5 separate regions of the Homo sapiens genome follow, and all the other regions are linked to region 1. The links are contacts of gene promoters, found by promoter capture Hi-C in blood cells and fetal thymus (Javierre and others, 2016). All regions are on one chromosome and are shown on one strand. The core of a region is centred on a gene start or on the middle of the fragment in contact, and the rest is flanking DNA. Distances in the headings are between cores, read along the strand shown.

Evidence for each region. The method cuts DNA at HindIII sites, captures the fragments that hold promoters and counts their contacts. A CHiCAGO score of 5 or more calls a contact.
Region 2: a fragment that was not itself captured here is called in contact with the fragment with the promoter of ZNF225 in region 1 in 1 of 17 cell types (total B cells); the score reaches 5.9 in total B cells.
Region 3: a contact is called between a fragment that was not itself captured here and the fragment with the promoter of ZNF225 in region 1, in 1 of 17 cell types (total CD4 T cells). The highest score is 6.2, in total CD4 T cells.
Region 4: a fragment that was not itself captured here is called in contact with the fragment with the promoter of ZNF225 in region 1 in 2 of 17 cell types (non-activated CD4 T cells and total CD4 T cells); the score reaches 10.5 in non-activated CD4 T cells.
Region 5: a fragment that was not itself captured here is called in contact with the fragment with the promoter of ZNF225 in region 1 in 5 of 17 cell types (activated CD4 T cells, non-activated CD4 T cells, total CD8 T cells and 2 more); the score reaches 9.0 in activated CD4 T cells.

The regions. Positions count from the first base shown.
Region 1 is chr19:44,110,289-44,116,147 of GRCh38, reverse strand. ZNF225 (zinc finger protein 225) reads right to left here and starts at 2,749. Exons shown (of 5, transcript NM_013362.4): 1 at 2,579-2,749; 2 at 306-388. The coding sequence starts at 320. ZNF225-AS1 (ZNF225 and ZNF224 antisense RNA 1) reads left to right here and starts at 2,965. Exons shown (of 2, transcript NR_033341.1): 1 at 2,965-3,326. RefSeq lists an enhancer at 2,296-2,995 and a silencer at 2,688-3,038. The HindIII fragment of the contact is 4,811 bases long and covers 1-3,546 here.
Region 2 is chr19:58,060,422-58,066,280 of GRCh38, reverse strand. ZNF135 (zinc finger protein 135) reads right to left here. Exons shown (of 5, transcript NM_001289401.2): 3 at 4,575-4,701; 4 at 2,740-2,835. Among named protein-coding and RNA genes, the nearest start is that of ZNF135, 4.1 kb to the right of the region's middle. The HindIII fragment of the contact is 676 bases long and covers 3,370-4,045 here.
Region 3 is chr19:57,841,449-57,847,307 of GRCh38, reverse strand. It overlaps ZNF587B (zinc finger protein 587B), which reads right to left. Exons shown (of 3, transcript NM_001376223.1): 3 at 1,070-5,859. The coding sequence ends at 4,732. Among named protein-coding and RNA genes, the nearest start is that of ZNF587, 5.5 kb to the left of the region's middle. The HindIII fragment of the contact is 5,098 bases long and covers 1,916-5,859 here.
Region 4 is chr19:57,590,988-57,596,846 of GRCh38, reverse strand. ZIK1 (zinc finger protein interacting with K protein 1) reads right to left here. Exons shown (of 4, transcript NM_001010879.4): 4 at 2,957-5,859. The coding sequence ends at 5,572. Among named protein-coding and RNA genes, the nearest start is that of ZNF530, 6.0 kb to the left of the region's middle. The HindIII fragment of the contact is 4,262 bases long and covers 408-4,669 here.
Region 5 is chr19:57,567,588-57,573,446 of GRCh38, reverse strand. ZNF416 (zinc finger protein 416) reads left to right here. Exons shown (of 4, transcript NM_017879.3): 4 at 1-1,881. The coding sequence ends at 1,328. Among named protein-coding and RNA genes, the nearest start is that of ZNF416, 8.4 kb to the left of the region's middle. The HindIII fragment of the contact is 746 bases long and covers 2,245-2,990 here.

The DNA.
Region 1 (5,859 bases), core at 1,500-3,999:
GCTCACATCTGCAATTCCAGCACTTTGGGAGGCTAAGGCAGGCAGATCACCTGAGGTCAGGAGTTTGAGAACAGCCTGGCCAAGATGATGAAACCCCGTCTCTACTAAAAATACAAAAATTTTCTGGGTGTGGTGGTGTGTGCCTGTAGTCCCAGCTACTTGGGAGGCTGAAGCAGGAGAATCACTTGAACTCCGGAGGTGGAGGTTGCAATGAGCCAAAATCAGGCCACTGCACTCCAGCCTTGGCGACAGAACAAGTCTCCATAAAAGAAATTTTAACAGCAAGAGAGGCAAGCTCTACTCACCTTCAACGTGGTCATTTTTCCTCCTATTTCAGGGAATATTCAGAGTCCTGAGTGATACAGTCCAAGGGAAAGCAGAATCCTGCCTGGAAAGTACCAGGGAAGGCAGAAAAAGAGACATGAAAGTGTGGCCAGGGATGCCATCCACCAACACGAATGTGTATTGTAAATTAACACATGAATGTTCCCAACAGCATCATTCATAGTAACCCAAAACTGCACACCAACAAACTCCCTCCTATGCGTACATGGATAGACAAATTGTGGCCTATCCATACAATGGAATCTTATTTGGAAATTAAAAGGAATGAAGTACTGATTCATGCTACAACACGCATGAACTTTGGAAACATTATGCTAAGTGAAAGAAGCCAGTCACATAGGAAGGCCCACATATTGCATGATCCTATATCTATGAAATTCCAGAGTAGGCAAGTGTATATAACGAGAAAGTAGATAGGTGGTCTCTGCATATTTGAGGTGACAAAGAGGATTAACTATAAGTGAGCACAAGGAGGCTTAATGGGGGATGAAAATTATTTAAACTGAATTATGGTGATGTTTATTCCACTCCACAAAGTTCCTAAAAATCATTAAAGTGTACACACGAAATGGGTAGTTTCTATGATATGTAGAATACACCTCAATAAAGTTGGACAAAGCATTGGTAATTGTTCATCCACATGTCATTTAACTTAATAAGACTGGATTCTGGATCTACACTGATAGAATATTTATAGTTGAATGAATGAATAAGCAAATGAAGGAGAAGGGAGAGTTCACCTTTACAGTAGAATGTGCACTAATAAATGTATTTCTCCTTACAAAATTTTATTTAACTAAAAAATTAGGGAGTGTATATTGAGAGCAACTTGAATCTGTGTTCCTGGGGTAAAAAAAAAAATTCAAAATAATTTTACAATGCGGAAATCTGACAAACATGACTTTAGCCAAGTGAACAAAGTTGAGATCACCAATGAAGTGACAAACTGACATATGGCCCCTGTTATGTTGCAATAAGAAATTTACCACTTCAGGCTGGGCACGGTGGCTCATGCCTGTAATCCCACACTTTGGGAGGCCAAGGCGGTTGAATCACCTGAGGTCAGGAGTCTGAGACCAGCCTGGCCAACATGGTGAAATCCCTTCTCTACTAAAAATACAAAAATTAGCCGGATGTGGTGGCAGGCACCTGTAATCCCAGCTACTTGGGAGGCTGAGGCAGGAGAATAGCTTGAACCCAGGAGGTGGATGTTGCAATGAGCTGAGATCGTGCCATGCACTACAGCCTGGGCGACAAGAGCGAAACTCCGTCTCAAGAAAAAAAAAGAGAGAGAGAGATTTACCACTTCTGTGGTATTCCAGCAAAAAATGCATATTTTGAAGTTAAACGTGAAATACATCAGAAAAACTCCAAATGAACATCTTTGACCAAAATAACTTCATCTATACTCTTCAAAAATAACAAGGATAAAATACCAAGAAAAAACGATGAAAGCTATGCTATCTTTCAAGATTAAAGACTAGAAAAACATGACAACTGAAAGCAACACCCATGCCCGAAGACACATCCTATACACTCTCGGTTGGGGTGAGCATCTCTGTCAAAGAAAAAAGCCAAGGATCACTCACGTAGAGCTTTGCCCTCAGAAGCCAAGAAGTCCCTCCCTGCAGCTCTTTTGGAAAGGTCGGGCTGGGTAAGGAGAAGGCTGTGAAACACTCTGACCGTGGTCGCCGTGCCCCATAAAAGTTAAATGCTCCTCTCCCCTCCTGGAAGTGGATGCAACCCTCGCCTTCCTAAAAGAGAGGTCAGAAGGCGTCCGGGATCACCCAGCGTCTTGCAGGAATCAGGGAGAAGGGCCGGTGCCCCTGCAGCTGGAGTTTCACCCCACCCGGGGACCTGACAGGCTTCGTGGGAAATTAACAAGAGACCACCAGTCACCAAGTGACAGGGGCTGCTTTAAGGCTCTCATTTGTGTTACCGCTTTCAGTTCCCAAAACGATTCTATTAGGATGGTCCTAAACTCCCCATCTTAAAGAACTGTAACGGGAGACCCAAGGAGATTAAGTAACATCCCAGCGTTTTATCGCGAGGAAGTGGCCACGCGCGTGGGGTGCAGGGAGGCCGAGTGGGCGAGCTCAGAGCCCCGGAGACCCTAAAACCAGGCGAGACGCGACCCGACCAAGTCCCAAACACCCCGGGGACGCGAGGAGAGCCCCAAGCCCAAGAAGGCTCCACTGACGAGAACGAAAACAGCGGCCCCGCTCCGCCAAACCTCTGCTCTCCGACGAGGTTTCTTTTCCCCTAATTCGATCACCAGTTCGTTAAGGATCCAATGCGTAGGTCCAGGAAATTCAGAAGGGTCTCGCGGAACTGACCCAAACTACCAGGGACAAAACTGCAGCAACCTCACAGTAACGGAGCGGAAGTGGCCCGCTACTCCACTGAGTGTCTGGACTCCACTTCCCAGAATTCCTGAGACAAACTGACCGCGACGACCCCGAGCGTCTGGACTACACTTCCCAGAATTCCCTGGGATCCACCTGCCGGAGTCAAATTGACCGAGACTCCACTGAGCGTCTGGACTACATTTCCCAGAAATCCCCTGATTCGCCTGCCGGAGCCAAGCTGACCGCTACTCCACTGAGCGTCTGGACTACCATTCCCAGAATTGCTTGTATCCTCCTTCTGGAGCCAGTGTGTACGACTCCACAGAGCATTTGGATTACACTCCTCCGAATGCTGAAGGAAAAACGCTCAAAATCTCATTCTTCAGGGGGAAGCGTTGCCACTCCGAGGTGCCCACTGGGAACGAATCCCAAAGCCACGAGCGCCTGCCTAGTGGGGAATGTGAACTGTTATCCTGAGAGTCGTCCTTCTCTCTCCCTGGTCCAGGACAGAAAATACTGAATAGACAGGAATTTCTGAAGTCTAAACGCCTCCAATGATAACAGGAGTGTTATTGGAAAGGGAACAAGCGAGAAGACACAGTCTTCGAGGAGTTAAGTTTTGCTAATCTAATGGTAAGAAATGGTTTCTAAATGTAGTTTTAATTTGTATTTGTTCTTTTGTAAATAAAGTGGAACATCCGTGCATATTTTCCGTTGCCACTATTATAGTCTTTGTGAATTGGTCAAATAGTTTGCCCACATTTCTATTGAGTGTTTAGTTTTTTCCCCTCCGTTAAGTATTATTTACATACTCATATTAACATTGTATCAAATATTGCTCAACCAAAAAGCTTTTTTCCTTTGACTTGTTTTTCGCTATGCAAAACGTTTTTAACGTGGTCGTTTTATTATTTAAAAAATATTTTTGAGGTGTAATTCACAAAACAAAATTATTTTAAGGCACATAATTCAATGGCAATGGCATCTAGTACGAATACAGTGTTGTTAATATATACGAGTTAAGAAGCCATCACTTAGGCAGATAGGGTATGGGAGCCCTCGGTAAGGCTTTTCTTTTTAATGAAAAGCAGCCCCAAATTATTTCCCTTCCTAAGGAAGAGCAGCCTGTAAAATCCAGCTGCCGCAGACATAGATACCAGCAGTTGTGCCAATCATGTTAAAGATGGCGGCTCCATCTTCCCTTCTCTTTGTCAGCCACGTGCACAGTAAGAAGCTGGCAAGATGGGCCAATCAACTGGGAAGCCTATTTGCATAAGAAGATTAGGGTGGGGCGACCAGCCTTCCCCACGCACTATGTAAACGTCATAACTGATCGAACCAATCTATGACCCCTATGTAAATCAGACACTGCCTCCTCAAACTGGTCTGTAAAACTCAGCACATTCACTGCCAGCCGACCCTTTTCCGCTCGGAGACCCCTTCCTCTATGGAGGAACCCGTTTCTCTTTCTCTTCTTCCTATTAAACCTCCGCTCCTAAACTGAGGAGTTTTTGTGTGTCCGTGTCCTAAATTTTTCTGGCGCTTAACGACGAACCCCGGGTTTAAACCTCAGACAAAGTAGCTGCTTCATTGTGAAACCACCACCTCTTGAATTACAAAACATTTTTATCACCCAAAGAAAACCCCATGCCCACTAAGCAATCACTACTGTTGTCCATAATCCCATTCCTGGGGAAACATGAATCTTTCTCTCTTTTCTATTACCTATTTTGGACAAATCATAAAAATGAATGGAACATTTTGTTTCTAACTCCCTTTGCTTAGCATAATATTTTTAATGTTATTCACATCATACCACGTATCAGTACTTCATTCCTTTTCATAGATGAATATTTTATGTTTATACTACAATTTGTTTCTCCATTCATACATTGACGCACATTTGGCTTCTTTTCACCTTTTGGCTGTAGTGAACAGTGTTGCTACAAATGTTCGTGTATACGTATTTGTTTCATTACCAGCTTTCAGTTTTGGTTGTTTTTTGTTTGTTTTTTGTTTTGAGAGGGAGTTTCGCCTCCCGCGTTCAAGCGATTCTCCTGCCTCAGCCTCCAGCGTAGCTGGGATTACAAGCATGTGCCACCACGCCCGGCTAATTTTGTATTTTTAGTAGAGAGGGGGTTTCTCCATGCTGGTCAGGCTGGTCTCAAACTCCCGACCTCAGGTGATTCACCCGCCTCGGCCTCCCAAAATGCTGGGATCACAGGCGTGAGCCACCGCGTCCAACCGTGTATTCCACTTCTTTCTGCTGCTGAGACACAATAATTTCAGATGACTTCTCTTTATATTCACTCATTCTGAATACAGCAAGAGTAGGGAGATGAATATTAGGTGCACTTACCTGTGGCTTCAGAGCCTGCACAAACACAATCTCATATATACCACTTCCAAATGGAATACTAATCTGCACATGTAACTTAAAAAGGTGCAGGGGTCAACACCCGATTCATGATGGAAAGCATAAGTCACATGTTAATTTGGTGGTCTGTGGTCAAGTGTTCTGTCCGTTTTAAGACCCCTAGTGGCCGGGCGTGGTGGCTCACACCTGTAATCCCAGCACTTTGGGAGGCCAAGGCGGGTGGATCACGAGGTCAGGAGTTTGAGGCCAGCCTGGCCAAGATGGTGAAACCCCGTCTCTACTAAAAATACAAAAATCAGCCGGGTGCGGTGGCGGGGCACCTGCAATCCTAGCTACTCGGGAGGCTGAGGCAGGAGAATCGCTTGAAACCGGGAGGCAGAGGTTGCAGTGAGCCAAGATTGCACCACTGCACTCTAGCTTGGGCCACAGAGCAAGACTCGTCTCAAAAAACAAAAACAAAAACAAAACAAAACAAAACACCCTAGCAAAATGAAAAGCTTCTTCTCCAGAGGAGAGTAAGTATATGCAGAGGATGGCAGAAATTTGCTTCAAAATACTAAGCATCTGAATTTTGATTCTCCAATTAGGGCCAACCATAGGCTTCAAACATACTATCTGCCACGGACATTTCAAACACTTTTGGACCCCCGGGGTCACAGGGTTTTAGTGGCAGAGAAGCTTACGTGGAAGCTGGGACATATTACACAAACTTCTCTTGTCTGGGACAAGTCAAAGTTTTTGGGTCACTCATAAAAGTCAGAGTAGCACAATCGAAACAATAAGTTGCAT
Region 2 (5,859 bases), core at 2,458-4,957, about 14 Mb before region 1:
GATACCCAGCTTCTTCCCGACAGCATATGCTGTTGTGCCACCTCACTCTAGATGTAAAGGAACCTAACTGCTCCCCACAAACAGGAATAGCTGCAATGTACATCACTAAGAGGAAGAAAAATGACCCGTGGCATATTAGAGTGCTTTGGTCTGCCTTATTTTGTCCATTTCACTAACTGGGAACCCCTTGAGGGTAGGGGTTTCCGTCCACCTTGCTTACCACTGTATCTATAGCCCACAGCAAGAGCTCAATATACATGCTTAATGAATGAACAAATGCATTCCCTCCTCCTCCTTCATGGCAGGACTCTCTTTTTGCCCTGGTACCCAGCCCTCTCTGCACAGCCATGACCTGGGTGTGTGCTGCCCCTACCCTGACCCCACAGTGGCCTAGAGGTGTGATGTGGGCACCTTCCCCATATTGTTATGTTTCAGTGAAAAGTTCAATTAAAAAAAAAAAAGTTAAGCCAGAGTGAATGGCAGAATAGTGGCTTCCCAAGATGCCCACATCCTAACCCTATAACCTGTATGTTTCCAATTACATGGGAGGGAGGAATTAAGGTTGCTAATCAGCTAACATTAAGATAGAGAAATTACACTGGATTATCTGGGTGGACCTGTGTAATCACGAGGGTCCTTAAATGGGGAAAAAAGGCAGAAGGGTCAGAGTCAGAGTGAATATGATGTGACTTGACCAGGCCTTGCTGACTGTGAAGATGGACAAGGCCATAGCCAAGGAATGTGGGTGCCTCTAGAAGCTGAAAAATGCAAAGAAACGGATTCTTAGCCAGGCACAGGGCCTCATGCCTGTAATCTCAACACTTTGGGCAGCTGAGGTGGGAGGACTCCTTGAGCCTAAGAGTTCAAGACATGCCTGGGCAAAATGATGAGACCTTGTTTCTACAAAAAATAAAAAAAAATTAGCTGGGCATGGTGACACACACCTGTAGTCTCAGCTACTCAGGAGGCTGAGGCAGGAGGATCACCTGAGCCCAGAAGGTCAAGGTTGCTGTGAGCCATGATCATACCACTGGACTCCATCCTAGGCAAGATAGCAAGACCCCATCTCTTAAAAAAACAAAAAGGAGAGAAAGAAATAGATTCTTCCCTTCCCTAGAGCCTCCAGAAGGAATGATGCCCTGCTGACATCTTTATTATATTCCAGCTAGACCCATTGTGGATTTCTGATCTCCCGAACTTTAAAATAATTTGCTTTGCTTTATGCTACGAAGTGTAGTATTGTTGACGCTTGAACAATGAGGGGGCTAGGGGCACTGACCCCAGTACAATCGAAAATCTGTGTATAGCCTTTGACTCCCCAAAAACTTAACTATTAATAGCTTATTGTTGACCATACTGATAAAATAAATAGTTAACACTTTGTTTTTTTTGAAACATGGTCTTGCTCTGTCACCCAGGCAGGAGCACAGTGGCGTGATCTTGGCTCATCACAACCTCCACCTCCTAGTTCAAGCAGTTCTCCTGCCTCAGCCTCCTGAGTAGCTGGGACTACAGGAGCGTGCCACCATGGCCAGCTAATTTTTTTTTTTTGTATTTTTTTTTTGTAGAGACGGGGTTTCACCATGTTGGCCAGGCTGGTCTTGAACTCCCGACCTCAAATACCACCTGCCATAGCCTCTCAAAGTGCTGGGATTATAGGTGTGAGCCACTGCTCCCAGCCCTTAATTAACACATATTTTGTATATGTATTATATAATGTGTTCTTAAAGTAAGCTAAAGAAAAAGCTATTTAAAAAAATCATAAGGAAGAGAAAATATATTTACTATGCATTAAATGGAAGTGGACCACCATAAAGATCTTCATCCTCATTGTCTTCACAGTGAGTAGGCTGAGGAGTAGGAGGAGGGGTTGGTCTTGCTGTCTCAGGGGTGGCTCAGGCAGAAGAAAATCCATGTATAAATGGACCCACACAGTTCAAACCCATGTTATTCACGGGTCATTTGTAACTGGTTGCAGGAGGAGCAATAGGAAGCTAATATATTGGGTAAGGGCTGTTATTGATGTGGAGGGACCCTACTGTGACCCTTTCCCACACTGGCCATCCCTCCTGGACTCTGGTGACAGGCCACTCTTCCCACCTGATGCCAATGGGAAATTGCCTGTCAGTGGGCTGGGATACCTCTGCTACCTACCAATCACCCTACAGGCACATGGCGTAGGGCCCAGCCTGGATCCACTGACCCACAGACACATGAATTATAAACAATTATTTGGTTTAAGCCACTGAGGTCAGAGTGTTTTCCTACACAAAAGCTGACTGATGCATGACTTCAGGCCTTTGCACCTGCTGTTTCCTCTGCCTGAAATACTACTGTTCACTCAGACTGCCTCATGGCTCAGGCTTCAAGTCACATGTCACCTCCTTGGAGAGGCTATCCCTCATCTCTCTGCTAAAGTCTACTCATCCCCCTCCTAGTCTACCTCATTGCTCATTTTCATTTTCTCGGCATTCATCACAATCTGTAATCATCCAACTTGTTTTATTATTATTATTTTACCGATTTATTGTTTGTTTCCCCCACTCCCTCACCAAGAATATAAATTCAGTGGAGATGAGGACGTGGTGTCGTCACTCACAGCAAAATGGGTGCTTGGTAAATCTTCACTAAGACTGAGTAGTAAATTTGCTCTGAAGAATTAGAGAGCAGATGCAGAGGGAGAAACCAGGAAGCAAGCATGGACAGGCTTCTCTCTGCCCCGAAGGGCTCCCATCTCACCTGGGTACACGCCTTGGGGAAGTCTAGACTCCACCGCCCACAGCTCTGCCTCTTGCTCCAGCAGGGAGATGACATTCGGCTTCGGTAACCAATGTCCTGCTCAGGGAGAGACCCATAGAGTGAGCATTTGTATCCCAGGACCCTTCCTGAGCCTCAGCCCATTCCACCTTTGGTCTTCCAGGTCCCAGATGGCTGGGGACCCCTGAGTGACTTCAGCTGTCATACCCACAGCCCTGGATGTTCCTCAGGGACTCATTCCCCTACTCTCAGTCCCTGACCCTACCACTGGTTCTGGGGTGGACATGTGACCCAAGCCTGGACAATCAGAACTCTGGTTCCTCCCCTGCCCACTGGCATCAATGATCACTGTGAAGAAGACCTGGCAGCCAAACCAGGACAACCCTGGGACACAGATCCTGTCTTTTCTGCTGGTCTTGGTTGCAGGAAAGGCACCCCAGGCAGTTGTCTTGTCACCTCCAGAGGAGCCTCTCTGGAAATGAAGCCAGAAAGAGATTGCTATGGTCTGAATGTTGGTGTCCCCCTAAAATTCAGGCTATGCATAGTGGCTTATGCCTGTAATTCCAGCACTTTGGGAGGCTGAGGTGGGAGGATCACTTTAGCCTAGAAGCTTGAGGGCAGCCTGGGCAACACAGCAAGGACCCGTCTCTACAAAAATTTTAAAAATTAGCTAGGTGTGGTGGTATGCACCTGTAGTCCCAGCTACTTGGAAGACTGAAATGGAAGGTTTACTTGAGCCAGGAGGTTAAGTGTGCAGTAAGTATGACTGTGCCACAGCACTCCACCCTGGGCAAGAGAACAAGACCCTGTTTCTTAAAAATAAAAAAGGTTCAGGCCGGACGCAGTGGCTCACGCCTGTAATCCCAGCACTTTGGGAGGCTAAGGTGGGTGCATCACGAGGTCAGGAGATCGAGACCATCCTGGCTAACACGGTGAAACCCCGTCTCTACTAAATATACAAAAAAAAAAAAAAATTAGCCAGGCGTGGTGGTGGGCACCTGTAGTCCCAGCTACTCAGGAAGATGAGGCAGGAGAATGGTGTGAACCCGGGAGGCAGAGCTTGCAGTGAGCCGAGATCGCACCACTGCACTCCAGCCCGGGTGACACAGCGAGACTCTGTCTCAAAAATAAAAAATTTAAAAACAAATAAATAAATAAATAAATAAATAAGGTTCAAATGTTAGAATGTAATACCTAATCTGATAGTGTTGAGGTGGGGCCTTGGGGAAGTGATTAATTCATGAGGGCTCCACTCATGAATGGGATCAGTGCCCTTATAAAAGAAGCTTGAGATAACTCCCTTGCCCTTATGGCATGTCAGGACACAGGAAGAAAGTGCCATCAGTGAGGAGCAAGCCCTCACCAAACACTGAATTTGCTGACACCTTGATCTTAGGCTTCCCAGCCTCCAGAACCATGAGCAACAAATATCTATTGTTTAAAATTACCCAGTCTAAGGTATTTTAGCAGCCCTAACAGACTAAGACAGAAGTGCAGAGGGAGGTGTTGAAGAAGGAGGGGCTCCTAACAGCTCTACAGAACACCCTGGTCTACCCTGGGATTCTGTAGTCTTCAGACCCAGTATGTTTCCCTCACCTCATGTTTCTCTGCTTCTGTTGATTTCAGGTTGAGTCTGAGACTTGCTAATATTGGTCTTAATTGATATTTCCTACATTAAAACAGTCAGGTTCTTAAAGCCCAAGACATACAGCCCCAGGCATTTGCTTTTAAAGCTCAGTCCTATAAATATTTAACCTGGTAGAATCAGAATCCGTGTCAGGGACAGATCAACAGATAGGACATGGGTGTGGCCTTACCCACAGAGACCAGAAGCCTGAAGGTGTCCAGCATTACATCACGGTACAGGGTCCTCTGGGCAGGCTTCAGCTGCCCCCACTCCTCCTGGCTGAAGCCCACTACCACGTCCTCAAACGTCACTTGCTCCTGAAACATCACACGAGTGTCCTCAGCCAAGCCAACCCTGGCACTGGCTGCTGGTGGGGTAGCTGGTAAATGCCAGCCAGGCTGGGTCGGATGGAGTTCCCTTTGGTCTGGGGTTTTGGGTCAGGTTTTTCTGTGGGGCCTGGATGGGTGCCCTGCTGATGAGGTGGAGGATCTTAGAATCTAAGGCATCATGCCCGTTTCCAATAATTTGTCTCTTGAAATAAGAAATGGAGGGAGCCAGCAATAAAGGAGTGGACCAGCCCAGCATGGTGTCGCATGCCCGTGGTCCCAGCTGCTTAACAGGCTGAGGTGGGAGGATCACTTGAGCACGTAAGTTTGAAGCACAGTGAGCCATGATTGCATCACTGCACTTCAGCCTAGGGGATAAACAAAGTTATAAAGCTAGTAGCAGAAGTCTAAAGACTGAATCTGGGTGGTTTTTTTTTTCCCCCGAGACGGAGTCTCGCTTTGTCGCCCAGGCTAGAGTGCAGTGGCATGATCTTGGCTCACTGCAAGCTCCGCCTCCTGGGTTCACGCCATTCTCCTGCCTCAGCCTCTCGAGTAGCTGGGACTACAGGCGCCCGCCACCCCCCCGGCTAATTTTTTTTTGTATTTTTAGTAGAGACGGGGTTTCACCGTGTTCGCCAGGATGGTCTCGATCTCCTGACCTCGTGATCCGCCCACCTCGGCCTCCCAAAGTGCTGGGATTACAGGTGCGAGCCACCGCGCCCGGCCAAATCTGGGTTTGTTTTTTAATTTTTTAGAGACAGGGTTCCACTGTCATTCAGGCTGGAGTGCAGTGGCACATCATGGCTCACTGCAGCCTCCAACTCCTGGGCTCAAGCAATCCTCCCCCATAGCTGGGATTACAGCTACAAGCCATCGCACCAGTCCCCTTGTACGGGTTTTCTGACATTCCTACAGGAGGCTGGTTTCTTCTGGTGGCTTATGGGTGGGGTTAATGTCATCATAAAAAGGCGAGTTCCGCCCCCTTGGCCTCCATGACGTCTGAGGAAGCGGCACTCGATGCGCCATCTTGGAGCGCAGAGCATGCTAAGGCCTTCAACTTCAGACTGCAGAGCCGGGGCACCTACAATTTTCTGACATCACCCAGCCTCAGGTATGCAATGACGGCCGCACAAACATAAAGCCCACTCA
Region 3 (5,859 bases), core at 3,215-5,714, about 14 Mb before region 1:
ACTATGAGGATCACTATGTCAATATGTTTCTTAATTCATATGCTAAGGTGTACTCAATTTCTTTAATCACATTGACATCTATCTCAAAGGACGAGCAACTTAGCCAATGCCATTGTGGTACACACATCAGTCGCTACAACTTTCACCATTAAAGCACAGGTTAAAAAGGCCATCTGAATAACAATATAAACACGGCATCTGAGCTCCAAAATTTCATCTCCTTACAAGAAAGTGGTTATTATTTTCCAGTGACTGCAGGAATAGTTTCACACTGGGAACTGGGATTATCTCAGAATAAATTTTTTTTTTTCTTTTTTGAAACAGAGTCTCACTCTGTTGCGCAGGCTGGAGTGCAGTGGTGTGATCTCAGCTCACTGTAACCTCTGCCTCCTGGGTTCAAGTGATTCTCCTGCCTCAGCCTCCTGAGTGAGTAGCTGGGATTACAGGCATGCGCCACCATGCCTGGCTAATTTCTGTATTTTTAGTACAGATGGGGATTCACCATGTTGGCCAGCCTGGTCTCAAACTCCTGACCTCAAGTGATCCACCCACCTGCGCTTCCCAAAGTGCTGGGATTATAGGCGTGAGCCATCGTGCCTGGCCTCAGAATCAATTACAGGTGCGGTGGCTCATGGCTCAGGCCTGTAATCTGAGCACTTTTGTAGGCCAATGCAGGCAGATCACTTGAGGCCCAGAGTTTGAGATGAACCCGGTAACACAGTGAAACCCCATCTCTACTAAAAATACAAAAAACAGCTGGGCATGATGGCTTACGCATGTAATCCCAGCTACGTGGGAGGCTGAGGTGGGAGACTCACTTGAACCTGGGAGGTGGAGGTTGCAATGAGCCAAAATCACACCACTGCACTCCAACCTGGTAGAGAGTCTTGAAAAAAAAAAAAAAAAAAAGTATGCAGCAACTAAAATATCCATAAATGGATGGATGAATGAATGAATATACAATGACATTTCACGGCAGACTATACTTCTCAGCAACATAAAACGAATGAACAACTCATATATCTACAATGACATCAAAATAAGCATGATGCAGGAGAGCACCCAGGGATTATAAGAGGAAACACTTTATTACATCAGTCAGAAAATTCCAGAAAATGGAAAGTACTCCATCATACAGCAAAGTAAATCAATGGTTGTTTGAAGAGCAGAGAGAAAAACTTTATAAAGGCTCCAAGTAAATACAAAGGTGATAGATTAGATAAATTCATTATGGTGACTCTGATGATGGTTTCACGGGATTATAATAAAATTCAAGACTTATCCTACAGCTCAAATATGTGTACTTTATTGGATGTCATTTATATCTTTATTTTATTTTTAAGATGGGGTCTCACTCTATCACCCAGGCTGGACTGCAGCGTTGCAATCTTAGCTCACTGCAACTTCTGCCTCCCAGGCTCAAGCAATCCTCCCACATCACTAAGACTAAGGTACATGCCACCATACCTGGCTATTTTTCCTAGAGACAAGGTTTTGCCATGTTCCCCACACTGGTCTCAAGGAATCTGGCCTCCCAAAGTGCTGGGAATACAGGCATGAGCCATGATGCTCAGCCTATACCTTATTACAGCTTTTATAACACGGTTTAAGAGAAAAATACAGATTTGCCATCATTTTTGGTGACAGGTTTGGCAATTTTATGTTGACTTTACCAATTCTTCTCATGCCCTAAGTGGGGAAACTAGCCTCCATAGAAGCAAATATTGATGTAGCAGGAAGGTCATTTCTACCTGATTGAACTGGATCACTGGCTGGTCACAAAGCTACATCACTGAACTGAGATCTTTTTCCCTATTCTGTTCCTCCTGTTAATACAGGAGTTACCTTAAGGTGAGCAGCCCAAAAGGTTACATGAATTCACAAAACCTTTAGATTATTTCCTCTGACCAAAGCTTAGCTACACAACATTCATTATTATGGAAGTCTTGAGAATTTCTGTATCTGCTTATCCATCACAGACACAGTGACTGGATAACTGTGGACACTCCTTTAAAAGACATACATTTCAGCCAAACACAGCGGCCCACACCTGTAGTCCCAGCACTTTGGAAGGCGGAGGTGAGCAGATCACCTGAGCTCAAGAGTTGAATTCAAGACCAGTCTGTGCAACACGGTGAAACCCGTCTCTACTAAAACCACAAAACATTAGTGGTGTGGTGGCATGCACCTGTAATTCTAGCTACTTGGGTGACTGAGGTGGGAGAATCGCTTGAACCCAGAAGGCACAGGTTGCAGTGAGCCGAGATGGTGCAACAGCACTCTAGCCTGGGTGACAGAGTGAGACTGTGTCTCAAAAAAAAAAAAAAGATATATTTCAAAAACTTTATTGCTGTCCCCTCTGCTGACTATAAATGCAGTAACTAAGTAACCATAAAATTATAATTTCATCCTATAGCCTTACAACCTGTGATGTTGCCTTACAGAATTCTGGATATCATGGCACATGTGTGCCTTGTAAGATCTGCTGAACAGAGTTCCCTCAACAGTACCGAGCACAGTGCAATATACCTCATAAGAGAGAATTTTGTCTGGTTCAAAAAAAATCACCAATCTTTCAGTGTGATATTGACACTAAAATAAAAAACCCACCAGAGGTTGTTATAAAAACTGCCCTGTACCCAGCTGACCTATGAACCCACAATCTGTAGTATCCATGCTACAGATGAAGACCACAAAGCCATGAAGTCGTCCACTGGAGGCCTTGGGCAGCTATGCAAATAGGCCACAAGTGAAGAAAGCTATATTCTGCATTCATGCTGTCCCTTGGGCCACGCAGTTTAGCTATGCTGTCCTTCAAGGTAGCAGGACCCAGGCTGGAGTGCAGTGGCATGATCTCAGCTCACTGCAACCTCTACCTCCCGGGGTTCAAGCAATTTTCCTGCCTCAGCCTCCTGAGTAGCTGCGGCTACAGGTGCGCCACCATGCCCGGCTAATTTTTATATTTTTAGAAGAGACAGGATTTCACTATATTGCCCAGGCTGGTCTTGAACTCCTTCCTGTCCTTGTGATCCACCCACCTCGGCCTCCCAAAGTGTTGGGATTACAGGCATGAGCCACCATGCTTAGCCAAAATAGTCCATCTTTTCAAGTCAGCACAAGAGTCCTCTGGGACAAAAATGGGGAAGGTCCATGGTGTAACTTATCAGAAAGAAATGAAAAAGCAAGAAGTGCTGAGGCTACTCAACAAATCCTTCTGTGACCAGATCTGGAATTAAAAATTAAAGAAATAAAAAAGTCCCAGCATGGTGACTTATGCCACGCCTATAATCCCAACATTCTGGGAAGCCAGGCAGAAGGATCACTCGAGACCAGCAGTTTGAGACCAGACTGTGCAACACAGCAAGACCCTGTCTCTACAAAAAATATAAATTTAAAAAATTTTTAAAAAGGCCAGAAGCAGAGGCTCACACTGTAATCCCAGCACTTTGGGAGGCCAAGGCAGGTGGATCACGAGGTTAGGAGTTCAAGATCAGTTTGACCAACATAGTGAAACCCCATCTCTACTAAAAGTACAAAAATTACCTGGGTGTGGTGGCAGGCACCTGTAATCCCAGCTACTCAGGAGGCTGAGAAAGGAGAATTGCTTGAACTCAGGAGGCAGAGGTTGCAATGAACCAGGATCACACCACTGCACTCCAGTATCGGTGACAGTGAAACTTTGTCTCCAAAAAAAAAAAAAAAAAAAACAAAAAAAAACAACCAACCAACCAACCAACCAACCAAACAAAAAACTTAAAAAAAAAATCTCTCGTGAATGGGAGACAACCAAAATATACTTCTAGAATACGAAATAGGTGAATGATGCAATGTGGGTACCTACCAAGTAGCTGAGATGTAATGGCTTTTGCCAGATAAGTGGCAGTCACATAAGTCTAGCAAGATAACAGGGCATAGTAAAAAATATAATACAGATGCCACATGCCTGGAGTTTTTTCAATTTGGGCACATGGTGCCCTCAAAGGATCTCCTCCCATGTTACACAGAAAAACATAATTGGCTGAGCACAGTGACTCAAACCTACAATCTCAGCACTTTGGGAGGCTGAGGTGTACAGATTGCTTGAGCTCAGGAGTTCGATACCAGCCTGGAAACATGGTAAAACCCTATATCTACTAATATGAGAAAATAGCCAGGCATGGTGGTGCATGCCTGTGGACCCAGCTACATGGAGGCTAAGGTGGGAAGATCACTTGAGCCTAGGGGGCGGAGGATGCAGTGAGCTACGATCGCAGCACTGCACACCAGCATGGGTGATGGAGTGAGACCGTCTCTCCAAAAAAAGGAAAAAATAATAACATTCCCTATATATCTAACCTATACATCTACAGTGTTTTTCTCATCTCAGTGTTCTAGGATTCAATGACAGAAGGCACAGTGCTTTTTTGCAAACATTACATTCAAAAGGCATTTCCGTAGTGACAGCTCTCCTGTGAGTTTTGAAGCCAGACTTCTGGATAAATAGCCTATATTTGCCACACTAGTAAGGCCTTCATTCAGTGTTAAATATAATCCTGAAGGAATACAGAGGTGTGGCTACAAAACTGCCAAATTTATTTTACTTGTAAGGACTTTTCTCTGGTGTGAACTCTCCAATGTCCAAGGAGAGCAGACTTCTTTTGGGTAAACATTTTCCACATTTGCTGCAATCACAAGATCTTACTCAGGTGTGTGCTCTCCTGTATTTAATGAGACTGGACTCATTCTCTGCACTCATAAGGCCTTTCTTTCATGAACTCTCTGATGGTAACGAAGTGAAGAGCTTTTCCTAAATTTTTTTTCACATTCACTACACCCATAAGGCTTTTCTCCAGTGTGAACTCTCCTGTGATTAGTGAGACTGGAGATTCCAGCAAAAGATTTCCCACATTCACTGCACTCATAAGGCTTCTGACCAGTGTGAACTCTCCTGTGACTAGTGAGATAGGAGCTTGCAGCAAAAGATTTCCCACATTCACTGCACTCATAAGGCTTCTGACCAGTGTGAACTCTCTTATGAACAATGAATGCACAGCTGTGGGTAAATGACTTCCCACAATCACTGCATTCATATGGCCTTTCTCCAGTGTGAACTCTCTGGTGTGCAGTGAGGTGGCACTTGTGCCTAAAAAATTTCTGACAAGCCTCACAAGCATATGGCTTCTCTCCACTGTGAATTCTCTGGTGTACAAGGAGGTGAGACTTCTTCTTAAATAATTTTCCACATTCCCAACACATATAAGGCCTTTTTCTAGTATGGCCATGCTGGTGTAGAATGAGGTTACCCTTGTGACTAAAACATTTCCCACATTCCCCACACTTATAAGGTCTTTCTGTAGTGTGAACTCGCTGATGACTCCTAAGGTGTCCTTTTTCATTAAAAGATTTCCCACAGTCTCCACACTTGTAAGGTCTTTCTCCAGTGTGCATGCGCTGATGGATCCTAAGGTGCCCCTTTGAAATATAAGATTTCCCACATTCTCCACACTTGTAAGGTCTTACTTCAGTGTGAATGCGCTGATGGTAACTAAGGCTGGGCTTCCGACTAAAAGATTTCTCACATTCTCCACACTTGTAAGGTCTCTCTCCAGTGTGAATGCGCTGATGACTCTTAAGGTTCACGTTTGAACTAAAAGATTTCCCACATTCTCCACACTCATAAGGCCCTTTTCCAGCGTGAACTTTTTGATGGCGCCTAAGATATCCTTCTAAGCTAAAATATTTCCCACATTCTTCACACCCATAAGGTTTTCCTCCAGTGTGAAATTGCTGATGTTGAATGAGGCTGCTCTTTTGACTAAAAGATTTCTCACATTCTCCACATTCATAAGGTCTTTTTCCACTGTGAACTCTCTGATGATT
Region 4 (5,859 bases), core at 1,289-3,788, about 13 Mb before region 1:
TTATATGGGTTTTGACAAAGGCATAGTGACTTGTATACACACCACGGTAGTATCACAGAGTAGTTTCACTGCCCTAAAAGTCCTCCGTGCTCCACCTGTTCATCCCTTCCTCCCTTCCCCCAAACCCCTGGCAACCACTCATTTTTTACTGTCTCCATAGTTTTGCTTTTTCTGGAATGTCATATAGTTCAAATCACAGTATGTAGTCCTTTTAGTTTGGATCCTGTAATAGTCCGTTTTCGCGCTGCTGATAAAGACATACCCGAGACTGGGCAATTTACAAAGGAAAGCGGTTTAATGGAGAACTCACAATTCCACGTGGCTGGGGAAGCCTCACAATTATTGCAGAAGGCAAGGAGGAGCAAGTCACGTCCTAGGTGGATGGCAGCAGGCAAAGAGAATAAGCTTGTGCAGCTAAACTCCCGATTTTAAAGCCATCAGATCTCGTGAGACTAATTTACTGTCATGAGAACAGCGTGGGAAAAACCCACTCCTATAATTCAATCACCTCCCACTGGGTTCCTCCCATGACATGTGGTACTTATAATTCAAGATGAGATTTGAGTGGGGACACAGCCAAACCATATCAGATCCTTTCACTTAGAAATATGTATTTAAGTTCTTCCATATCTTTTATTATTTATTTTAATGTGGATAAATATACCATTTTCTAAATGTACCACACTTACCTGTTCACTTACTGAAGGACATTTTGGTTGCTACCAAATTTTGCCAATTATGAACAAAGGTGCTATAAATATTCATGTACAAGATTTTGTGTGGACATAAATGTTTAACTCATTTCAGTAAAACCAAGAAGCAGTATTACTGGATCTATGGTAATTGTTTTGGCATTGTTTCACATTTCAAATCAGTTGAGAAACCTTCTCAGGTATCTTAGAGGAAGCAAAAACAAAGTGCTTCTTCCTTTTTTACTTTTTCAATAATCTCTAAGCCTCCAGATGTCTGTGAATGTCACCTTTTGAATAGACATACACATACACACAACACAGTCACACTGCATAAGTGTGTTACTATTGCACACCTATCTGCAGGACCAGAGTTCAGTTACCCATTTCCTTAATATCTAGTGCACAGGAATATGGAGAAAGGGTCAGCATGTTAAATGACATCAGAGAGACACAAAACAAAAACACGCACCATTCCAGAATGTGGCAAATTCTGGACAAATGTCTCATCAACTTCAAGAATAATAATAAAAAGTGGTAGCTGTGTATTATTATAGACTCACCAGATGAAACTACTAATAGCCATATAGATTCATTTTGGATCTGATTGCAATGAATTTGTCTTAAAAATCAATTTTGGAGACAATTCGAGGTGACTGAGCACTGATGATATATTTTATGATGCCTTAAATAATGATTGATAAAGTTATAGGAATTATGAAAGAGCTCTTATGCTTGAAAATGCATTCTGAAGAGGTGCAGCATTGAATGACAAGATGTGGGAATTGTAAGTAAAATAATTATGTGTGAAAAGAGTTGAAACAAGAATGGCTACTAAATGATAAGTAATAATGGAAGATTTAGAAAGGTTTCATAGTGCATCTGAACACAGTCCTTTCCATTTGTGTATATACTTGAAAATATCCATTAGAAGAGGAAAAATAAGTTTTTGTACCCATTACTTGTTAAGAGGGATGGACTAAAAAGGGCAGGTGGAAACTTATGGTTTCGAGTATATATTAAAATAGAAATTGTATACTTTAAATATGCAGAATTTAAGACAACTAGATTTCACTTAAGCCACTTTTAAAAACACAAGTAATAAATACTCAAAAGTCAATTCTTAATCATTTTACTGTTTTACTCTTATATATACATTGTTCTATAGTGAGCAGGTGTATGAAAATCTATCCCAAAGGCCAACGAAGCTGAAAGGCCAAAGAAGGAGGAAGAGGCCAAATTGTTTTCAGAAACATTTCATAGGGACTCATGAACAGAAGTGATGTCTTGTGCAGCTGTGAGACAATGGATCCCTGTATCTGCCCTCCAGAAGGCAGTTTCCTTTACATCCTTTATAGGACCCTTTTTGTAGTGGTCAACAAGGCTGGAGTTTTTTGTTTGTTTGTTTTTCTAGACGGAGTCTTGCTCTGTTGCCAGGCTGGAGTGCAATGGCGTGATCTCGGCTCACTGCAACCTCCACCTCCTGGATTCAAGTGATTCTCCTGCCTCAGCCTCCCAAGTAGCTGGGATTACAGGCACCCGTAAGCCACCACAACCGGCTAATTTTTCTATTTTTAGTAGAGATGGGGTTTCACCATGTTAGCCAGGATGGTCTCCATCTCCTGACCTCGTGATCTGCCCACCTTGGCCTCCCAAAGTGTTGGGATTACAGGCAAGAGCCAACACGCCCGGCCTGGAGTTTTTAGGGTAAAACGTGCAGCTCTTCACGTCTTCAGACTTTCTTGCCAAGACTCATGACCATTGGGGGAGAGAAGCATTTTGATGATATCTATGCTACTGCTTCAGAACATAGGTGACCATGACAGCTTCACTTCAAGATGGCATCAGTCTTGCCACACCACAGGCTGTATGGTTCCTACATACATGATCTTCAGGTTATCTGCGGCTACTGTATTGGCATGGTGAAAGTAGAATACAGTGGTGTGACGCTACCCACTTCTTCTCAATTCATGTTCAGTGACATTATTTTGACACCTTGTAATTGGCCATGGTGGGAGTATTTTACCAGGGAAATTGGCAAATATTAAAAACCAGGGCTTATTTGTTTCATTGAATGGTTAGACCTAAGAAAGTGATGGAGAATTTGTCAATGAAGGTAGTGTTTCAGGTATATAGTGTCTGTAGTTGTTACACTGTGAATAGACCAAAAAACTGAGAAATTATTTTCCCAGTATTTGAAAACAATTTTATCATTTAGCAAATAAGTGCATCACATTACTGAAGAATGAGTAAAGTTTCAACATAAGTCTTTGTTATACGTCTATTTATTAATGAAAAAGTATCACCAACATCCATTTAAAAATAAGCAAAAGACATTAATAAACATTCTTCCAAAGAGGATATACAGGTGGCAACTAGATACAAGATGTTCAAATGTTCAATACCATAAAATACCAGAAAAATGCAATAAAATCACAGACAGATGCTATTATACAGCTATTAAAACAACTAAAATTAAAAAGACTAACCATACCAAGTATGGCAAGAATGTAGAGAAATAAGAAGGTTCACATACTGTTGATGAGAATGCAAATGGTACAGTTAGGTTATAGTCTGGCCTTGTCTTTAAAAGTGACGCATTCACGTACACTGTACTACTGACACAGGAGAAATAAAGCATTTCTGCATATTAAGAGTTATATGCCTATGTTCATAGTAGCATTATTTGCAACAGCCCAAAACTGGAAAGCATCCAACTGTTTATCCAAATTGTGACATATCCACAGACTATTTCTCAGCAATACAAATGAACTATTCACATAAGCAATATTGATAAATCTTAAAAGTAATTGTGCATCAGCTGGTGTGGTGGCTTACGCCTGTAATCCCAGCACTTCGGGAGGCTGAGGCGGGCGGATCACGAGGTCAAGAGATCAAGACCATCCTGGCAAACATGGTAAAACCACATCTCTACTAAAAATACAAAAATTAGTTGGGCGTGGTAGTGCATGCCTGTAGTCCTAGCTTCTCAGGAGGCTGAGGCAGGAGAATCGCTGGAACCCAGGAGGAGGTTGGAGTGAGCCAAGATCATGCCACTGCACTCCAGCCTGGTGACAGACTGAGACTCCATCTCAAAAAAAAAAAAAAAATTGTGCATCATCAGGAAAAATGGAGTAAGTATTTTACGTTTCAATTCACATAAAATCCTAGAAAACACAAACTATTCTCCTGTAGGGAAAGTAAATGACAGGACTCCTGAAGGCCTGGAAAGTACACGCAGAGATTGTAAAACAGCAAGAGGTGAATCATGAATATGTTCATGATCATGATTATGGTTTCACAGGCTTGTATGACAAACTCTTCAAATTATACACCATAAATGGATGTAAACTATGGCATGTCACTTACACATCAAGAAAGTTTGTAAAACATGTTTCACAATAAAGTATCTGATCACCCAACTTTCAGAAACCAGAATGCCTAGCAATCTCATGTTGACTGCACTCTCTCTTCAGGCCTGGGGAAGGGCAACCATGAGTCCCTCCATGCAGGAAATGTTGGCAAGCAATGAAGGCTGTGGCAATTTGAGACAACAGCAACACTGGTGGAAATCACAAGAGCTATCAATACATCCCTGGCCTATAGGACTTCTGTTATCTTTATCCTCCTTTTTCTGCCTCTACAGCAATGCACTTGAGGTGAACAACCTAGAAAACCAACAAGAATTAAAAAATAAAACCCTTTAATTATTTTTGCTGAAAATAACCTCAGCTATTGGACATACACAGATTTCTAGGTCCTATGACTGCTCAAAGCCACAGTCACGGGAAGATTTGTAAATGTACTTTTATAAGAGGCACATTCCAACTAGTTTGCTACAGTACACACAGTACAGAAATACCCAGGTATTTCTGTACCAATTACAGTTCACATGTGACTCGCGTTGTCTTCTGCGTGACATCGGCCTATGGAATGTTTGATATCAGGGCATGCCTCCTTATAGAACCCCATGAAAAGCTTCTCAGCAGCACTGGGCATCATATGACATCCTCTGGAAACAATGGAATAAAATTGTCCTATTCCCTGAAGCACACATGCTTGTCATAACAGCTGGCCTCTCCTCAGGATGACCTCTAGTCTCACAGAAAGAATAGGGATCCAGGCCACAAATTAGAATAACCAAAACCTTGCATTTTTTCCTAGGAGATTTTAGGTAGCAAAGCAAGTATGACCAAAACCAGAATTAGAATTACTCTGTCATCTTACTTTCCTGCAGAGGCCCACAAAAGCCATCCATTCCTTCATATAGAGTTGAAGTCTGTCTCCCAGCCACCCCACACAGTAAACAGAACCCCAAGACTACAGGTAGATTCAAATATAAGGCTTTTATTAGTGCACAAACTGGAGCAATGTGAGGCAGCCATTCACCACGTGGTGACATGGAGGCTGGAAGAATGACCAAGTGTCATGTGAGACCAAGAATTTACATGAAGGGAATCCTTGCACATAAGTGTCCAGCAGAACCAAGGCTGGGCCCTCCTGACCCAAACTGGGTCACACGTATGCTGTGATCAGTCAGAAAAAAGAATGAATTTTCTCTAAAGGCTTAGACTGCTCAAGATTTCCTCCAAAGACTTAAGAGAACACACAGATGTCTGCCTTGTCTTAGCACATAGGAGTGACCAGTGCCCACTGTGCAAGGTGGTAGAGGGTAGATGGTTTCTACCAGAGAAACAAGGAAGAATGAGGTTCAACTTCAGGCAGATGGCTCCCTCACAAAGGCTCTCTACTGCTACAATACTACAGAGACAGCACTTTCCCTGTAGGTCTAAGGCTCTACTTAAGTGTGGACTTTCAGGAGCTAAATGATGATAGATCTTGAGTTGAAGGCGCTTCCACATTTGCTGCATTCATGAGGCCTCTATGTGTTATGACATTTTTGGTGATGTATGAGGCTGGAGCATTGGCTAAAGGAATTCCCACATTTGTTGCACTCATAAGGCCTTTCTCCAGTGTGAACCACTTGGTGTTGAATGAGACCAGACTTTTGGCTAAAGGACTTTCCACACTGGCCACACTCATAAGGCCTTGCTCCAGTATGAATTCTCCGGTGTTGAATAAGGATGGAGCTTTGACTAAAGGATTTCCCACAGTCACCACACTTATAAGGCCTTTCTCCAGTGTGAACTCTCTGGTGTTTAATGAGGGT
Region 5 (5,859 bases), core at 1,368-3,867, about 13 Mb before region 1:
TGGACAAGGCCTCATTTGTGCAGTGCTGCCTGTTCCATGAGTCAGGAATGCCTTTCACCAGCAGTGAGGTTGGGAAGGACTTCCTAGCCCCATTGGGCATTCTTCAGCCGCAAGCTATTGCTAACTATGAGAAGCCAAACAAAATCAGCAAATGTGAGGAGGCCTTTCATGTTGGAATAAGTCATTACAAGTGGAGTCAATGCAGGAGAGAGTCCAGCCACAAACACACTTTTTTTCACCCTAGAGTCTGCACTGGAAAAAGGCTTTATGAATCTAGCAAATGTGGGAAAGCCTGCTGCTGTGAGTGCTCCCTTGTTCAGCTGCAAAGAGTCCACCCTGGAGAAAGGCCTTATGAGTGCAGTGAATGTGGGAAATCTTTTAGCCAAACCTCTCATCTGAATGATCATCGGAGAATCCACACTGGAGAAAGGCCTTATGTGTGTGGTCAGTGTGGGAAATCATTTAGCCAAAGAGCCACCCTCATTAAACATCACAGAGTTCACACTGGAGAAAGGCCTTACGAGTGTGGTGAATGTGGGAAATCTTTTAGCCAAAGTTCCAACCTTATTGAACATTGCAGAATTCACACTGGAGAAAGGCCTTATGAGTGTGATGAATGTGGAAAAGCCTTTGGGTCCAAATCCACTCTTGTTCGACACCAGAGAACTCACACAGGAGAAAAGCCATATGAGTGTGGTGAATGTGGGAAATTATTCAGACAAAGCTTCAGCCTTGTTGTACACCAGAGAATTCACACTACAGCAAGGCCTTATGAGTGTGGCCAGTGTGGGAAATCATTTAGCCTAAAGTGTGGCCTCATTCAGCACCAGTTAATTCACAGTGGAGCTAGGCCCTTTGAGTGTGATGAGTGCGGAAAATCCTTTAGCCAAAGAACCACCCTCAATAAACACCACAAAGTTCACACTGCAGAAAGGCCTTATGTATGTGGGGAATGTGGGAAAGCTTTTATGTTCAAATCTAAACTTGTTAGGCACCAGAGAACTCACACTGGAGAAAGGCCTTTTGAGTGCAGTGAATGTGGGAAATTTTTTAGACAAAGCTATACCCTCGTTGAACACCAGAAAATTCACACTGGATTAAGGCCTTACGACTGTGGACAGTGCGGGAAATCCTTTATCCAAAAGTCTAGCCTCATTCAACACCAAGTGGTTCACACAGGAGAAAGGCCATATGAGTGTGGCAAATGTGGGAAGTCCTTTACACAACACTCTGGCCTCATTCTCCACCGAAAATCTCACACTGTGGAGAGGCCTCGTGACAGCAGCAAATGTGGAAAACCCTACAGCCCAAGATCTAACATTGTTTAACTCTTGAAACTCCAAACCTGAGAAAAGCCTTAGACCTGCAGGGAATGTGCCATGTCTTTCTTCAGTGTTATGGCTATAGAGAGCCTTTGTGAAGGAGCCGTCTGCCTAAAGTTAAACCTCATACTTCTAGACCTCCCGATGGGTCAGACTCCCATTAGTTCCAGGCATATGTGTCTTGCAGGAGCTCCTTTGCATGTTCTAAACTGCTGGAGGCCTTTGCCAGAGTTAAATCATTAGTCACCCTTGCATACTAAGGCGAGGCAGATACACCTGTGTTCTCCCAACCCTTGGAGGAAATTCCTTGAGCAGTCTGAGCCTTTAAGGGGAATTCCTTCCCTTTTCTGACTGATTACAGCATACATCTGACCAGTTTTGGCCAGAAGGGCCCAGCCTGGGTTCTGCTGGAAGCTGATGTGGAAGGCTTCCCTTCATGGAAATTCTTGTTTTCACACAACACTTGGTAGTTTTTCCAGCCTCCAAGTCACCACCTAGTAACTGGCTGCCTCACATTGCTCTGGTTTGTGTGGTAATAAAGGCCTTATTTTTAAATCTATGTGTGGTCTTAGGGTTTGGTTTACTGTGTGAGGTGGCTGGAAAACACATTTGGGCTCCTACATAAAGGCATGGACAGCTTTTGTGGGGCCCCAATGTTGCTGGCCTGTGCAGGAAAAGTAAAATGACAGTAGTTCTTGTTCTGGTTTTAGTCCACTTTGCCTTGCTGCTCAAGGCCTCCTAGGAAACAATGCAAGAATTTTGTTGTCCTAATTTATGGCCTGGATCCCTACACTTTCTCTGGACCAGAGGTCATCCTGAGGACAAGTCGGCTGTTATGACAGGCTCCTGTGCTTTAGGGAATAAGATGGATTTATTGCATTGTTCTACAGGCTGTAATGCCCAGCACTGTTGAGACGAAGCTTTTTCCCAGCTTCTGCAAAGGAACCTATGTGCCCTGATGCCCATGATTCCATAGATGGTGGTACTCAAGCTGATGGGAGCTAAGCATGGGACATAATTGGTACAGAAATTTTGGGTATGATTAATAGAAAGTGGAGGAGGTAATAGCAAAACAAATGTGCCTGTGGTAAAAGTGCATCTACACATCTAGTAACTGGCTGTGTCTATTTTTACAACACACACAATCTCCTTGTACAAGGTGTGACAGTGTAGGCATAGCCTGGCTTAGAGGGAACAGCTCCATTCTGCAGCATGATTGTCAGAGCATGGAGCCAGGCAAGCAACCTGGAGGATTACTTGGGATGATTTAATGTGAGTGCAGGAGGACATGTGGGAGGTAGAGAATCAGAAGGAGCCTGGGTAGCAGAAACCTTAACTTGGAAATGACATCCCCCATCATAGGCTTTATCCTCTGCCACAGTTACCCTATTTTCAGAGGCAGTGTCCCTCACCCTTGTGCCCTACATGGAGCTCAACCCTCAGATGTCCTGGTTCTCTGTGCCTTTCCCAGTGACCAAGCAATAGGTTCTAATATCTAACAGTCTGAGGTCAACTTTCTGTTTGACTTGCCAGGCATTGGTGCCTTTCAAGGTCATGGCCCTGACCTTCATCTGGTAGAAATGTGGATATTTGGGCCTGGCCCAGAGGACACTGCACCAAGATGTGAGGCTGCAGAACTGTGGGCTCTTGGTCTTGCTGGGTAAAGCTTTATTTCTGTCCCATGTGGGTGACCCTAGTCCTCTGATTCCATCCTCTTGCACATACTGCCTGGTGAGAAAGGCATCTCAAGCCCTTCTCCCTCTACCCACAGGTCCTGTTGTATTCTCTGTTTTGGTCTCACATGCTTTTGCCTGGTCTCCCTGTGTCTGCACTGGGGATCACTGGGGTAGAAACAGCCCTTTAAACACAAATCCTCACCCTAGTGCCCAGCACACTCTGCCCTCTGTCTGAGGTCCTTATTCCAGAATTCAGGCAAGAAAACTTGATCTAGCCTGGTTGGGTCAGGTATCCCCAGAGATTGGTTAACAGGACTGTGGGTAGTGGATTATTCTCGAAGAAGGGGCTGAGCTAGGCAGGACTCCAAGGTAGCATGTCCATCAATATCCCCCAGGTATCTTATTATATAATGCTGCCTCTTTTTTTTTTTGATGGAGTCTCACTCTCGCCCAGGCTGGAGTGCAGTGGCATGATCTTGGCTCACTACAAACTCCACCTCCCAGGTTCAAACGATTCTCCTGCCTCAGTCTCCTGAGTAGCTGGGATTATAGGCGTGTGCCACCACACCCGGCTAATTTTTGTATTTTTAGTAGAGATGAGGTTTCACCACGTTGGCCAGGCTTGTCTCAAACTCCTGACCTCAGGTGATCCAGCTGCCTCGGCCTCCCAAAGTGCTGGGATTACACGCATGAGCCACTGCGCCCAGCTGCTTTTTTATTTTTTAAAGAGCTCCTTATGTCAGCATGAATTATCCTCATTTCCTGAGGCCTAAGTTATATTCTTCCAGTGGTAAGGGAGATGGTTTTAGAAAGCACAGAGGTAGGACATCAGGTGGCGTTGTAGGGCAGGTGAGCCCCAAAATTGGGGCTTAGTCCAAGAAGGTTCTTGGCTTCACTCAGGAAAGAATTCAAGAGCAAGCTAGTGGTAGATGGAAAATAGCTTTGTTGAGGCAGCAGGGTTACAACTCTGTGGCTGCTCCTACAGAGCAGGGCAACCCCATAGGCAGTGTGTCGAGTATCAGCTCAGGGGGCAGCTCTGCAATCATATTTATACCCGCTTTTAACTACATGCAAAGGGTGGGTTATTTGGAAATTTCTAGAAAAGGGATGGTAATTTCCGGGTGTTGTCATGGTGATGGTAAACTGCCATGGCACTGGTGGGTGTGTATTATGTAGATATGCTCTTGGTGCCTGTTCCCTGTTTCAGCCAGTCTTCAGTCTGGTATGGAGTCCTGCCTCCTATCTCACTCTCCCATCAGAGATTAGATACTCCTCTTTAATCTTAAGGGGGCTCTGTGACTGCTTGCTGCTGATTTTGTGGGCCTAGGCCCTGCCTAGCACTAAAGGAGTAAACATCCCTGGATACCACATATAAGGTCCCCAAAGGAAGGACACTTCCATTCTCTGGAATAGTAGACAAGGATGGGTTGGAAGCCTTGTGCCAGCATTGTCTTTACCTGGAACTAGAACAGGATACCCCAACCCCTCTCCTGTGGATACTGGTCCATGTCCTGTTAGGAACTGGGCTGCACAGTAGGAGGTGAGTGGCAGGTGAGTGAGCATTACTGCCTGAGCTCCACCTCCTGCCAGATCAGTGGCAGCATTAGATTCTCATAGGGGTGCTAACCTTATCATAAACTGTGCATGCAAGGGACTGGGGTTGCACACTCCTTATGAAAATCTAGTACCTGATGATCTGAGGTGGAAGAGTTTCATCCTGAGACCAGCCCCCAGCCCCAGCCCCACATACCCCATCCATAGAAAAATTGTCTTCCATGAAACTGGTCCCTGATGCCAAAAAGGTTGGGGACTATTGATCTAGAAAACACAAACTTTACTAAGAGGTTAAACAAGCAAGAGCCAAAGAAAATATACATAACAGGGTCACTTGCTTATAGATCTTTTGAATGTTAACCTATCCAGAGTTGCTAATATATGTGCAGCAGGTTTTATTAACTGCACAGACTTTACCTTGTTCCGCTAGTAGATAATCTAATGCCAGTGTGTTATTGAGAACTGCATTTGCCAAAGAGTCTAGAGATTCTTGAATTGCTGGTAGTGCCTAACCTGTGTTGGTGGCTAAGGATTCTAGAGTTTGAGTCAAGTTCTTTAGGGTTGACTTGTGGTAGGCAAAGCCACCCTAGGGTGCTGCTTGTCCTATGGCTGCCCTGATTCCCACCAGAATTAATCCTATTGCTTGTTGACTTCTGGTGTTCCTGGGCCTTATTGGGTTATAGACTGTGACCCTTGGAGGGGCAAGGGTGGTCAACATACATTTATCTTTGTTCCAAGTTTTTGATATATAAGGGAAAGCTACTCCTAAAAGAACAGATGGCTCCCTGGGGAGCCAGGAGTAGTTACAGCATGTGACTTCTCATTCATGGCCACAAACAAAAATGAGTCCAGTTGGAGCATAGAGGTCCTACAGGGTGTAATGTCTATCCTTTGCTGCCAAGTTGGGTCTATAGAGATATTCTTCCCCTGTTCCAATGGGGGTGGTCAAACAAACCTTGTTTTCCAGAAGCGAATAGTACTCCCACCCTCCCAGATTAGGCAGTCATTTTTTCCCGTGTGTTCTGGTCTGGGAGAAGACATCATATATGGTCTTCTTGCCTACAAGTGAAATACCATTTACCTTGCTGTTGCCTTGGAAACTTGGTAACTATAGTTAGATCAGAGCATCACAGGGAAACGTCTGCTTTTGTGTCATTAACATAGTAGTGAGTGCAAAAGAATCATTAATGCACTGGAGATATACTCAACTTTTCAAGTCCAGGTATAATGGCAAGTGTGGAAGGGGACATTCAGGTGGAATCCATTAAGTGAAGGAGAGTTCCACTGAATAAGTAGGGGTTTTGGTA